Linked DNA regions of Homo sapiens: regions 1 and 2 are each linked to region 3. Evidence: promoter capture Hi-C in 16 types of primary human blood cells and fetal thymus (Javierre and others, 2016). All regions are on one chromosome and are shown on one strand. The core of a region is centred on a gene start or on the middle of the fragment in contact, and the rest is flanking DNA. Distances in the headings are between cores, read along the strand shown. Region 1 has its middle 120 kb from the start of OAT. Region 2 has its middle 83 kb from the start of OAT. Region 3 holds the start of CHST15 (carbohydrate sulfotransferase 15).

Evidence for each region. The method cuts DNA at HindIII sites, captures the fragments that hold promoters and counts their contacts. A CHiCAGO score of 5 or more calls a contact.
Region 1: a contact is called between a fragment that was not itself captured here and the fragment with the promoter of CHST15 in region 3, in 2 of 17 cell types (neutrophils and M0 macrophages). The highest score is 7.6, in neutrophils.
Region 2: a contact is called between a fragment that was not itself captured here and the fragment with the promoter of CHST15 in region 3, in 2 of 17 cell types (monocytes and neutrophils). The highest score is 6.1, in monocytes.

What each region holds. Positions count from the first base shown.
Region 1 is chr10:124,297,508-124,301,754 of GRCh38, reverse strand. No RefSeq gene overlaps it. Among named protein-coding and RNA genes, the nearest start is that of OAT, 120 kb to the left of the region's middle. The HindIII fragment of the contact is 626 bases long and covers 1,023-1,648 here.
Region 2 is chr10:124,333,825-124,338,151 of GRCh38, reverse strand. No RefSeq gene overlaps it. Among named protein-coding and RNA genes, the nearest start is that of OAT, 83 kb to the left of the region's middle. The HindIII fragment of the contact is 8,214 bases long and covers 1-4,327 here.
Region 3 is chr10:124,091,724-124,096,174 of GRCh38, reverse strand. It overlaps CHST15 (carbohydrate sulfotransferase 15), which reads left to right and starts at 2,577. Exons shown (of 8, transcript NM_001270764.2): 1 at 2,577-2,706. The HindIII fragment of the contact is 12,111 bases long and covers 1-4,451 here.

The sequences.
Region 1 (4,247 bases), core at 86-2,585, 210 kb before region 3:
TCCTGCTTCCTGGGCTCACTTTCCCCTCACCCCAAATCACCTGCACCAAGTCCTTGTCTGAGGCTCTGCTTCTGGGGGAGCCCAAACTTAGGCAAGGGTTTACTGCATGATCTTGGCTACACAGAGACCAGCCAGGACCTATAATAATGGGGCTCACGTTGGCCATTTGAGCTCTTCCTGGAAAGAACTGTGAGGGTCTCCACAGCCACTATGCCACTCAAACTGCAGTGAGAGCTGGTGTCTGGGACAGCCACCGAGTGTGCCTGTCACAACTTGCTGGGGCATCACTGACCAGGTGCATCGGTGATGGTAGCTAATTTTACAATGTCCTCTTAGTAATAAAACAGACCGATGTATTATGAGTGAAACATAAAGTCTGTATGAGCTTTGAAGATCAAACAAGAGATGCTGCAGAAATTTCAGATTTTCAGAGGGCTGCTCTGAGTTCCTGCTCCTGAGGGCCCCAGGGGATTCAAGTTTACCGTCCTCTGCCAGGGGCTCCCCTAGGACCAGAGGAAGGGCTCTGAATGGTCACTAATCCTGACGAGGACTTGAGTTTGCAGAGCACGTCCGTATTTTTGTCTCACAGCACCTTGTAGTACCCAGTGAGGTCAGTAAGCAGCATCGGTTACTTTTATCTTCATCTCAGGCAGAGAGAGGTTCAACACTGTCTGAAGACTCAGCCAGCCAGGGCTCACCCAGGTGGCACCCAGGTCTTCAGACAAGGTCTGTTACTGAAACACCAGGGGTTCAGTCTAGGTTCTGCTGCTCACCACACAGAAAGCCAATCACAGAGACAATGATTGTTGCCAAGGAAGAAGGCTTTAATCGGGTGCTGCGGCTGAGGAGTTGGGAGATCAGTCTCAAATCCATCTCCCTAACTGACTAAAATAAGGGGTTTATATAGCAGGGAAGAAATGTAACTACGTATGGGAAAACAGGAACTCAGGAGGGCTAAGTAGGGAATCATGATGAACGAGGGGCCTGGTGTTTCATTGTCTGGATCTGGTGAGTTTCAAGCTTTAAGCCCAGAAAAGTCAATTTCAATTTCTATGTTTATTAAACAACAACAACAACAACAACTGTCTGTGGGCCTATTGGGTCAGTTTCACTCCTTTCAGAATGCCACACGGCTGCCTGGGGGGAGGGGGAATTTGGGCTTGGCCAAGACTGACCAGCTGGCTACGTTAGGAAGTTTGTGATTTGCTGGAGAGCTACGCATCCACAGTCCTGACCCGGGATGAGAGCTGATCGTGTCTGTACTGGGAGAAGGCTGCTCTCAGACATTTGTTCAAGGGCAGCATCACCTGAGTGCCAAGGGGTTGGTCGTGAATGCCACTATGTCACCTTTTGCCAGAGGAATGTTCTGTCTTCCTTTCTCTCATCTGGACCAGGACTTGTGTGTGCACTGGGGAAGGAGTCTTGTGTCCTCCACAGCTGGCCCAGCCTGTGTCACCCTGGCCTAGCACCTTGTTCTTTGGCTCAAGTACCCTGGGCCCACGGATTGCTTCAGGGGCCTGGGAAGAGGAGGAGGAAGCAGCAGAGGTGGCGACTGGGATGGTTCTAGAAGCAGACTCATTGGTTTTGGAAGGCTGCACACGGACTTGCTCCCCTTTGGGGATTGGGGAAATGAGGTGAATTTCAAGCTTTAAGACCAGAAAAGTCTTAATCCATTGCTCACCTAGAAATCCATTGCTGAGAAATCAGTTGCTGAGTTGGTTCAGGCTATGTGGGGAGGGGGCCGTCATCCCGCAAGGGGACCTGAATTTGTTCCTCCCTCTGGCCTTGGTGGGTGGCAGGAGGCTGGTGCCTTGGTTCTGCCTGGGCAGATGCAAGCCTGGGATGTGCCTGCTTCCTCTCTGCCCCACCTCCCTTGGACTGTGCACGTTTCCATTGATTACAAAAACAGTTGCAGCAGGTTCTGGCAGGGCTGGTGCTGGTGGGAAGAAAACTGTTTCCAAGTCTCTAGAATGTTGTCAGCACATGAACCATGACCGCACCCCTGCTGGGAGAAGAGTCAGTTTCTGGGGATTATATTAATAATAAATGGCAGCCATTATCAACCCTGATCCTGCAAAGGTGATAATAACAGCTATGGCGAACACCGTGATTGGTCCTTCTCAGCACTGGCTCATCAGTGATCTTATGATGGGCTCTGTTATTGGTTCTGTTCCACAGATGCAAAAACCCGGCTTAACAACGTAAGTGACTTGCTCTGAGTGGCACAGTCACTAAGTCGCAGCCCAGGGTCCTGCGGCTCGATCTCTGCGCCATCACCTGCCACATCCTGAGCCCTTTTTCTGTGCCAGGCCTGGCATTCAGACTCCACAGGCATCATTTAATTTTCATCTCATAATGACTTTCAGGGAAGGTACTGTTGTTGACATCATCTTCATTGGGGCTCAGAGAGGTGCAGTGATTTGCCCTAGTCACACAGCTAGTGGTGGACCAGGCTCTAGACCCCTAGCCTGTCTGACCCCAGAGCCCTTGTTCTTTATCACTGAGCTGTAGCTCTTGCAACCAAGAGGCCAAAGCAGCTGAGATCACGAGACAGGGGTGATGCATAGGCCATGGTTCCACCTTCCACCCTCCACTGGTCACTGGGCAGAGGCCATGTGCCCTGTGAGGGCTGCTCAGGCAAGGCTGAGGCATGCCTCTTGGGTGGCAGTGCACAGAGCAGCACTGGGCACCTGACATGCCGGTCCATGTGTGGCTGGGAGCTGTGACATGCCAGTCCATGTGTGGCTGGGAGCTGTGACATGCCGGTCCATGTGTGGCTGGGAGCTGGCCATGAGCCTCTGGGTTAATGTTCAGTTGAAAAGCCTCCAAAAAAAAGCACAATAACCTGGACAAGCTGACTAATAAGGATTTTTTCTATAATCGTAACATCATCATCCTTCCAACAATGGATGGATTCATTCGTTACGTACTAGCATTTTTCTGTTCAACTAGAAAACCACTGCACACCTAGAAAATACAGAGATAGCCATGAGCCTTCAGGGTCATTTGCTTTGCACATCAAGGCATTTTTTTATTCATCAAATGTCCTTTGCATGGGGGCTGGGGTCCCCATACCTGCCCTCAAGGAACTCATAGTTTACTGGGGGAGATGCAGAAGTATTTTGGGTAGCTGTAGAACTAGGATTATATTGATCGATTGGATGATTAATTGAGTCAATGAATATTTTTTGAGCATCTACGATGTGCATGAAATTGATATTTAAATTATTCATCTTTTGCATTCATTTATTAGTTTTAGAATTGGAAAGTGGCTTGCGATATGTATTCTATAAAAACCCAACAGATTTGTGACCTTGTTCACTTCTGGGATAAAGATGATCTTTCCTAAACCAGAAATTAGATGGAGGCTTTGAGTCATGCTCCATAATATCATATAAAAATATGAGAGCTTGACTCTACCCCTGCGTTTCTCCCACCGTGTGCATGTTAGGATCATCTGGGTAGACTTCATAAAGTGGCCATGCCATTGTCTTGGCCTCACGCCTGCAGACTCTGATTTAATAAGTTTGAAGTGGGGCTCTGGGGAAAAGGGGTGCTTTGAAACATCCCCAGGTGGTTTTCTGTGCTGGGCTCTGTGAACCATTGCTCTATACCAGCTGTTTTCTTTTTTTTTTGTTGTTGTCATTGTCGTTTTTGTTTTTGAGACAGAGTCTTGCTTTGTTACCCAGGTGAAGGGCAGTGGCATGATCTCTGCTCACTGCAACCTCCGCCTCCCAGATTCTCATGCCTCAGCCTCCCGAGTAGCTGGGATTACAGGCGTAGCCATGACGCCTGGCTAATTTTTGTATTTTTAGTAGAGACGGGGTTTCACCATGTTGGCCAGGCTGGTCTCAAACTCCCGACCTCAAGTGATCTGCCTGCTTCGGCCTCCCAAAGTGCTGAGATTACAGGCGTGAGCCACCACACCCGGCCAATACCAGCGGTTCTTAGAGTTTAATTTCTCATGCTTAGGCTGTATGCAGTCCACTAAACCAGAATTGTCTGGGGGTGGCATCCAGTCATCAGTATGTGTTAAAGTTCCCTCGGTGATTCCAATGTGTAGCTAAGAATGGGAACCACTGGTCTGCACCTCTATTATAATCATGAGTGGTTTAAAGATGGCATCACAGAGGATGTGACATTGGAGCTGGGTTTTGGAGGATGAATAGGAGTTTGCTAGGATCCTGTCAGAGGTAAAGGGAGCACTCTAGGTAGAGAAACCAGCACATGCAAAGGCAGAAGAGCAA
Region 2 (4,327 bases), core at 1,159-3,658, 240 kb before region 3:
GAGGGGCTGTATTAGTCTGTTCTCACAGTGCTATAAAGAACTATCCAAGACTGGGTAATTTATGAAGAAAAGAGGTTTAATTGACTCACAGTTCCTTGGGCTGTACAGGAAACATGGCTGGGAGGCCTCAGGAAACTTACAATCCTTGCGGAAGATGAAGGGGAAACAAGTATGTCTTTACCATGGCAACAGGAGAGAGAGAGAGAGAAAAAGAGAGAGCGAAGGGGAAAAGTGCTACACACTTTCAAGCAGGCAGATCTCATGAGAACTCACTCACTATCGCAAGAACAGCAAGGGGGAAATCTGCCCCCATGATCCAATCACCTCTCACCAGGCCCCTCCTCCAACACGTGGGGATTACAAATCGACATGAGATTTGGGGGTGGGGACACAAATCCAAACCATATCAGGGGCTCTTGGTGACCCTGCCCTTTGAGCAAGGAGTCCCCCGTCAGTGCCAGGCAGGGCAGAAAGCGTGGTGAGGGGTGAACTGTTCCAACGCCATTGCTGAAAGGATTAGCCTGTATCCATTAACTTGCTTTTGCACCTTTGCCAAAACTCTTGGCCATATTTGTGTGGGTCTATGTCTAGGTGCTCTATTATGTTCCGTTGATCCATGTATCCATCCCTTCACAATACCACACTGTCTTGATTAATGCAGTTTTTATTTTTATTTTTTTGAGACAGAGTCTCGCTCTGTCGCCCAGGCTGGAGTGCAGTGGTATGACCTCAGCTCACTGCAACCTCCGCCTCCCGGGTTCAAGTGATTCTCCTGCCTCAGCCTCCCGAGTAGCTGGGATTACAGGTGCCCACCACCATGTCTGGCTAATTTTTTGTCTTTTTAGTAGAGAGAGTCTGATCAAACTAGTGATTTTAGCAAGGTTGAAAGAGAAAAGATCAACACAAAAATCAATCTCATATGCATGTTAGCCAGGCTGGTCTCAAACTCCTGACCTCAGGTGATCCACCTGCCTCCCCAAAGTGCTGAGATTACAGTCGTGAGCCACTGTGCCTGGCTGATTAATGTAGTTTTTAGTAAGTTAAAAAATCAGGTAGTGTGATTTTCCCAACTTTATTTTCCTTTTCAAAATTGCTTTGGGTATTCTAGTTTCTTTACCTTTCTATTAAAATTTTGGAATCAGCTTGCTTATATATATAAAGATCCTCGGCCCGGCACGGTGGCTCACGCCTGTAATCTCAGCACTTTGGGAGGCCAAGGCAGGTGGATCAAGAGGTCAGGAGATTGAGACCATCCTGGCTAATGTGGTGAAACCTCGTCTCTACTAAAAATACCAAAACTTAGCCAGGCATGGTGGCACACGCCTGTAGTCCCAGCTACTTGGGAGGCTGAGGCAGGAGAATCGCTTGAATCCGGGAGGCAGAGGTTGCAGTGAGCCGAGATCGCACCCCTGCACTCCAGCCTGGGCGACAGAGCGAGACTCTGCCTCACAAAAAAGAAAAAGAAGATAAAGATCCTTGTGGGATTTTTGATTAGAATTGTGTTAAATCTACATGTCTATCTGAGAATTGTCTTCTTACTTTTGTGAGTCTTCCCATTCATGACCATGGTATACCTCTTGATTTATAGGGAGGTGCCAGCTCTCTTGGTAACTAATAGAGTGAGAACTTACTTATCCCCACTCTTGTGTACCCCCCATTCCCGCAGGGATGTCATTAATCTATTCGTGAGGGATCTGTCCCCATGACCCAGTCACCTCCCATTAGGCCTCACCTCCAACATTGAGGATCAAATTTCAACATGAGGTTGGCTTCTTGGATTTGTTCCATCAGCTTTTGTGGTTTCCAGCATGCAGATTCTCTACATGTTTTGTTTTATTTATGCTTAGTATTTTTTTTTTGGAGATTTAGTAAAATGTATTGGTTTTTCAAATTTTGGTTTATAATTGTTCAATACTGGTATACACATGCATATGTGATTGATTTTTGTGGTGTTGATCTTTTCTCTTTCAACCTTGCTAAAATCACTAGTTTTATCAGACTTTATTTTTAGATTACTTGGGATTTTCTATGTAGATAATTATGTCATCTCTAAATGGGCAGTTTCGTTTCTTCCTTTCCAATATGTATGCCTTCGAATTATTTTTCTTTCCTTATTGCACTGGCTAGGACTTCCTGGATGATGTTGGATTGGAGTGGTGAGAGTGGACACCTTTGTCTTGCTATTTATTTGGGAGGAAGCATTCGGTATTTAACGATTAAGTAGGATGTTAGGAATAGTTTTTTTGTATTTGCCCTTCATTGAGTTAAGGAGTTTCCTTCTATTTCTAGTTTGCTAAGAGTTTTTTTCTAAGACATCATAAATGGATTTGAATTTTGTCAAATGCTTTTTCTGCACTAATAGTTATTGTATGAACTTGCTAGGGCTGCCATAACAAAGTACTACAGATTAGATGACTTAAACAACAGAAACTTATTTTCTCACAATCCTGAAGCCTAGAAGTCTGAGATCAAGCTCAACAGGGCTGTTTCCTCTGAAGCCTGGCTCCTCAGTTTGCAGATGGCCATGCTCTCCCTGTATCTCCACGTGGTCTTTCCTCTTCGTGTATCTGTGTTTGCTATGGTCTGTGTTTGCGTCCTCCAAAATTTCTATGTTAAAATCCTAACCTCCAAAGTGATGGTGTTAGGAGGTTGGGCCTTTGGAGACCTCATGAATGAGATTAGCGTCCTTATAAGAAGAGGCCAAGGCTGGGTGTGGTGGCTCATGTCTGTAATCCCAGCACTTTTGGAGACCAAGGTGGGAGGATGTCTTGAGCTCAGGAGTTCAAGACCAGCCTGGGCAACATAGCAAGATCCCGTCTCTAAAAAAAAAAATTAGCTGGGGGCGTGGTGCATGCCTGTGGGCCCAGCTACTTGGAAGGCTGAGGTGGGAGGATGGCTTGAGCCTGACAGGTCGAGGCTGCAGTGAGCTATGATCATACCCCTGCCTTCCAGTCTGGGTGACAGAGTGGAACCTTGTCTCTGAGAAAAAAAAAAAAAAAAAAAAAAAAGAGGCCAAAGCTAACTTGCCCTCTTTCCACCATGTGAGGTTACAGGGAGAGGTCAGCTGTCTGCAGCCTGGAATAGGGCCCTCACCAGAACCCAACCATGAGTTCTGGCACCCTGATCTCTGACTTCCAGTCTTCAGAACTGAGCTATGAATGTTTGTCATTTAAGTTACCCAGTCTGCGGTTATTTGTTATACTGGCCTGAACTAAGACAGTCCAAATTTCTTCTTCCTTTTGATATGGCTTGGCTGTGTCCCCACCCAAATCTCGTCTTGAATTGTAGTCCTCATAATCCCCACTTGTGGTGAGAGGGATCCGGTGGGAGGTAATCAAATCATAGGGGTGGTTTGCTCCATTCTATTCTCATGACAGTAAGTTTTCTCATGAGATATGGTGGTTTTATAAGGGGTTTCCCCCTTCACTTGTCTATCATTCTTCTCTCTTGCCGCCATGTGAAGAAGGACGTGTTTGCCTCCCCTTCTGCCATGGTTGTGAATTTCCTGAGGCCTCCCCAGCCATGAAGAACTGTGAGTCAATTAAACCTCTTTCCTTTATAAATGAGCCAGTCTTGGGTATGTCTTTATTAGCAGCATGAGAATGGATAAATATACTTTCCAGCAGGACAACAGTCATATTAGAATAGGGCCCACCATAATGATGTCATTTAACTTAGTTACCTCTTTAAAGACCCTGTTTCTGAATACATTCACATCCTGAGGTGCTGGGGGTTGAGACTTAAACATGTGATTTTTTTGGGGTAAATAATTCAGCCCCATAATAGATATGATCATGTAATTTTTCTTGTTTAAACCATTAATGTGGTGGATTGCACTGATTTATTTCCAAATATTGAAGCAGGCTTTCATTCCCAGGATAAACTGTACTTTTACTTATGACATATAATTCTTTTTATATTGCTAGATTTGATGTGATAATGTTTTCTTGAGAACTTTTGCATCTCTCTTTATGAGGGATTTCGGTTTGTAGTTTTCTTGTATTGTCTGGTTTTGATTGCAGAGTAATGCTGGCAGCATAAAAGGAGTTGGGAAATGTTCTCTCTGCTTTTATCTCTTGGAAGTGATTGTGTAGAATTGGGGTTATTTTTTAAATATTTTCTAGAACTCACCAGTGAAACCCTTTATGCTTGGAAATTTCTTTTTTGGAAGGTTTTTTAAAAATTATACATTCAATTTCCTTAGTAGTTACAGGACTATTCAGATTATGATTTCATCTCAGATGAGTTTTAGTAGTTCCTTTTCTTAGGAATTGTTACATTTCATCATTGTCAATTTTATGTGCATAGAGTTGTTCAGAGCATTCCT
Region 3 (4,451 bases), core at 1,328-3,827:
CCCAGGCAATTTAAATCCACAGTTGTGGGGGCCTAGAGTGCACACACGGGAAGCGGGGATTTATTTTCTGAAAGTATCTGCATTTTTTTTTCTTTTTTCTTTTTTTGAGAGGGTGTCTCACTCTGTCACCCAGGCTGGGGTGCAGTGGTGTGATCTCGGCTCACGGCAACCTCTGCCTCCCGGGAATCTACGGGCTTGCGCCACCACGCCTAGCTAATTTTTGTATTTTTAGTGGAGACGGGGTTTCACCATGTTGGCCAGGCTTGTCTCGAACTCCTGACCTTAAGTGATCCACCCGCCTCGGCCTCCCAAAGTGTTGTGATTACAGGCGTGAGCTACCGTGCTTGGCCGGTATCTGCATTTTTTTCAGCCGTGACTTGCTAATACCATGTTGGTATCAACCTCTCTTGCAGTTACACATTTATTTGTCTATCCTTCCACCCATCCACAGGGACCTGGCATTTGGGTGTTCTTTCAATTCTCTGCAGTAACAGGCTCAAGTGCAATTCTTGGGTAATTTTTTGAAATTAAGGTTGAAAGGAAAAAAATCACCTTCTAGTTAATCTCAGGCACGTGTATAAATACCTTTGGAAAGTCCCTGGTGGAATTCATATCAAAGCGGCACCGTGATTTTTACTTAAAAACAATTTTGCTCCATGTCAACCGTGGTTTCTGACACCTGAATTTGAAAGTGATCTGGGTGGGCCCAGCGCCATCTCCATAACGGAGTTATGTGTTTACTTGGAGGGAGGAGAGGAAAGGCATTATTCCCTGGCAGTATGTGTGGCCCTGGAATAATGTTCCACACACCCTTACAGAAGGGGATTTCCTCCTTGCTGTTTCCACAGACCCTTCCCTGTGTTTGTTTAAACCCGTTGCACACTGGTCTGACAGCTGCCTGGCCCAGGGCCTTCCTTGCAGACGCATGTACAACCAACCCTCTTTAACAGCAACCTGCTCTGTGTCCCCTGATGCAATTACTCGAGTATATAAACCTCACTGAAAGGCAGGCTTTTCTTGGGAGCTAATAAATAAGCCCCAAAGCCACAACGTGTGTGAGACCTTGAAAAATGGCATCATCATCTATTGGGAATTGTGAACCCTGCAAAAAGCAGCTCGTTGTATTTTCAGAAATAGGTTTTTGTTTAAAAAAAAAATAAAGAACAAAAATCACTAAGTGGAGTCTATATGGAAAAAGCAATCTAGTCTGAGATTCTAAGGCAAGTCTCTTTGCTGCATTCATCTTTCTTCGCAGATTTTATGTAAGAGGCATTATTTGCAGGAAAACAAGACAGGATTTTAAAGAACTCCCCTCTCATCCCGGTTTCCCATCTGCAGTTATAATCCTCTGATGGTGACCTCTGCATTAGTTGCCATGGGTGCTGAGCAGAAGTTTATGACCTCAGGGTGGACTGTAGCTTCAGGGGGGCGAGATGAAGCCTCCGGCAATAAAGAGATAATGGGGAGAAGCCACTGTCAGGAATGACCCTTCGGTGGCATGTAGTCTACAGTTAACGGAGCACTTTCATTTCCACTTCTGGTTGCTTCGAGGAAGAGGGTGCTGGACTCTGGCCACGGGGACACAGGCCGGCAAGAGACTGCAGATTCTTTTTGTCCCTTGGACCTCAGTTTCCTGAGAGGCTGGGCTTGGTGCTCCAAGCGCCCTCTGAGCGAATCTGCCAGAATTTCATGTGTCTTTTCTTTAACTGATGGCATCTTCAGCCCAGAGTCAGTGGAGTCGGCCACTGGTGCCGCTTTCTTGCCCTCGGGCTGTCCAGGTGGTTCCCTGGGGCAGCCGACTCCAGGCCACTGCGGCAGGCCGTGGCGATCGGGGTCCTGCAGAGCTTTACCTCCCCCGCGGAAGCAAAACACGCCGGGCCAAAGAGCCGGGCCAGCCTTCCCGGGATGCAAAAATACAACAGAGGGCGCCGAACTCACCAGCGCTGTGGCCTTGAATATTAATGTACGGGCTGGCTCCAGACCGCCAAGTTCCTTAAAGATGTCTCTGGCGGCCGGGCGCGGTGGCTTACGCCTGTAATCCCAGCACTTTGGGTTGGGGGGGCGGACGGATCATCTGAGGTCGGGAGTTCGAGACCAGCCTGACCAACATGGAGAAACCCCGTCTGTACTAAAAATATAAAATTAGCCTATTTTGCGTGGTGGCGCATGCCTGTAATCCCGGCTACTCGGGAGGCTGAGGCAGGAGACTCTCTTGAACCCGGGAGGCTGAGGCAGGAGACTCTCTTGAACCCGGGAGGCGGAAGTTGCAGTGAGCCGAGATCGCGCCATTGCATTCCAGCCTGGGCAACAAGAGCGAAACTCTGTCTTTAAAAAAAAGAAGTATCTGGCAAGGTGTCACTGCCAGATTTCAGGGGTTTCGATGTGCTTTTATTTGGAATCACCGCAACACACAAGCAGTGTTGACTCGGAGGGGGAGGGGGCAGGGGCCAAACCCACCGCTCGGCGCACACGCCTTGATCTCACATTCCAGACTGGAGCTGATGTGTGTCAGCGCGACATGGGGCGGGGGGAGGGTTCTCCTCGGATGTTTCATTCGCCGTCTGCACGTCACTCCCAAACTTTTCCTCCCAGCGCTCGGGGAGTCAGGTTGACGCGCCCTGGATGCGGGGCTAGAGGCTCGGGGCTGGGCGCGCTCCCGCGGAGCCGGAGCCGCAGAGGCTCCCGGGCTGGACTCAGGCTTCTCAGGTACAAGTTAGGTGCCAGACGCCGAGGTGGGGTCGGCGAGGAGCGGCGGTAGGAGGTCTGGCCCTGGGCTCGGGGCTCCGGCGCCCCTCCGCGGGTTCGGGCCAGGCAGCGCCGGCGGCGGCCGGGGCTGGGCGTAGGGAGTCCGGGCCGGCGGAGGCGGCGCGCAGCCTCACTCCCCGCGGCGCTCCCGGCGCGGTGGTGGCGGTGGCGGTGGCGGCGGCGGCCCAGGCAGACAATGAACTTGCGAGCTCGACGAGCCGAGGCAGGTTTGGGCCCCGGGCTCCTTGGCCCGGCCTCCCCGAGGCTTCAGCGATCCCCAGCGGGAGGAGTCCCTTCGCCATTGGTCCTGGCCGCGCTCCGGGCGCCCTGCGCGCTTGAGGACCCCGCGGGAAGGGTTACCCAGCGGCGACACACGCCCCCTCCCTCGCAGAGAGGACGCGGCCGGAGCGAGGGGACAGGGGACCGAGCAGTGGCGTGGTGGCGCCGTGGATAGCCGGAGGCCGGCGGGGGGCGCAAGCCGCGTGGAACGCACCGGCGGGCTGTCCGGGAGAAGGAGCCCAGTAGTCGGAATCGGGGCGCCCCTGCACCGCCCAGCTCTGGGAGCCGCAGGCGGGGGACCGACCGACGGACAGACCAGTGCTTTCACGGTGTGAGCGCGCGTCGTTTGGCGGTAGGGGACGGGGATTCCCCCCAGCCTTGCGCTCCGCCCCCACACCCCTATCGCACTTTGGGGAAGTTTCCAGGCGCGGCCCGGGGCAGGTAAGTGGGCATCCGCCACTCTCTCCCCGGTTGCGAGCTCGGATGCGCTTCCAGAACCCTGGCTCTAGCCTTGCGGCGGTTCCGGGCGGGGAGGCCAGAGCTCTCCCGCGCCTAAGCCCGTGGGACCCGGTTCAGGGAAGGGGGATGGCGGGGGCGGGCCTGGGAAGAGATAGGGGAGCGGCTGAGCCCCGAGCGGTGTGAACTTTTGCTCCCCGCCCCCTCCTCCTTCCTCCTCCCCGCCCCGCCCCCACTGCTGTCCCCTCCCTGCGCCCCGCCGCGTCTCGGGAGGCGGCGTGACTCGGGAGTTGCCGGCGCTTCCCGGCGGTGGCGGCGTCTCTGGCCGGCCTTGGTGCGGCGAGCCGAGCGAGGCAGCTCTGAGCCGCGCGGTGAGGCCAGAGGCGGGGAGCCGGGGCTGCGGGGCGGCGAAGCTGGGGAGCCGGATGGCAGCGGCCGGGGCGCGGAGGCGACGCTGGCGGTGGAGATGTAATGCGAGTCTGTTGGGTTGTGTGTGCCGGGAGATAGGACGCGGTGGCTGTGGGTGGCTGGGTGGCGGGCTGTGGCGCAATTGGCCCCCTGGGATGGCAGGATAGAGGCGCCGGGGCGAAGGGAACCTTGCCTTTGGGAAAATGAATGAAGAGCCGTGGAAGCACCTTCCCGACTCCTCCAGGCAACCGATGGGCCGGCGTGCGCGCGAGTGTGTGCGTGTTGAGGCTTCGGAGCCGCCCGGGTCCTGGGCACAGCTGCTTGACCTCCCCGTCGCTGTCCGGGTGCCCACGTTCCCGCCCGCCCTGCGCCCGGGGCCGGCCGGCGCGGCTGGGACGGCGGGTATAGAGGAGGAAGGCTGGGGCTGGGTTGCCGGCTGCTGGCGGCTGGAGGTCCGCGCCCAGTGTAGGGAAGTCTTCGAAGGAGGCTGCCAGGCTGGAGGCTGGGACCAGCTCCTGGGGGCGGGGGCCCTTCTTCGTCTGCCTGCGTGCGCGGAGCCGCTG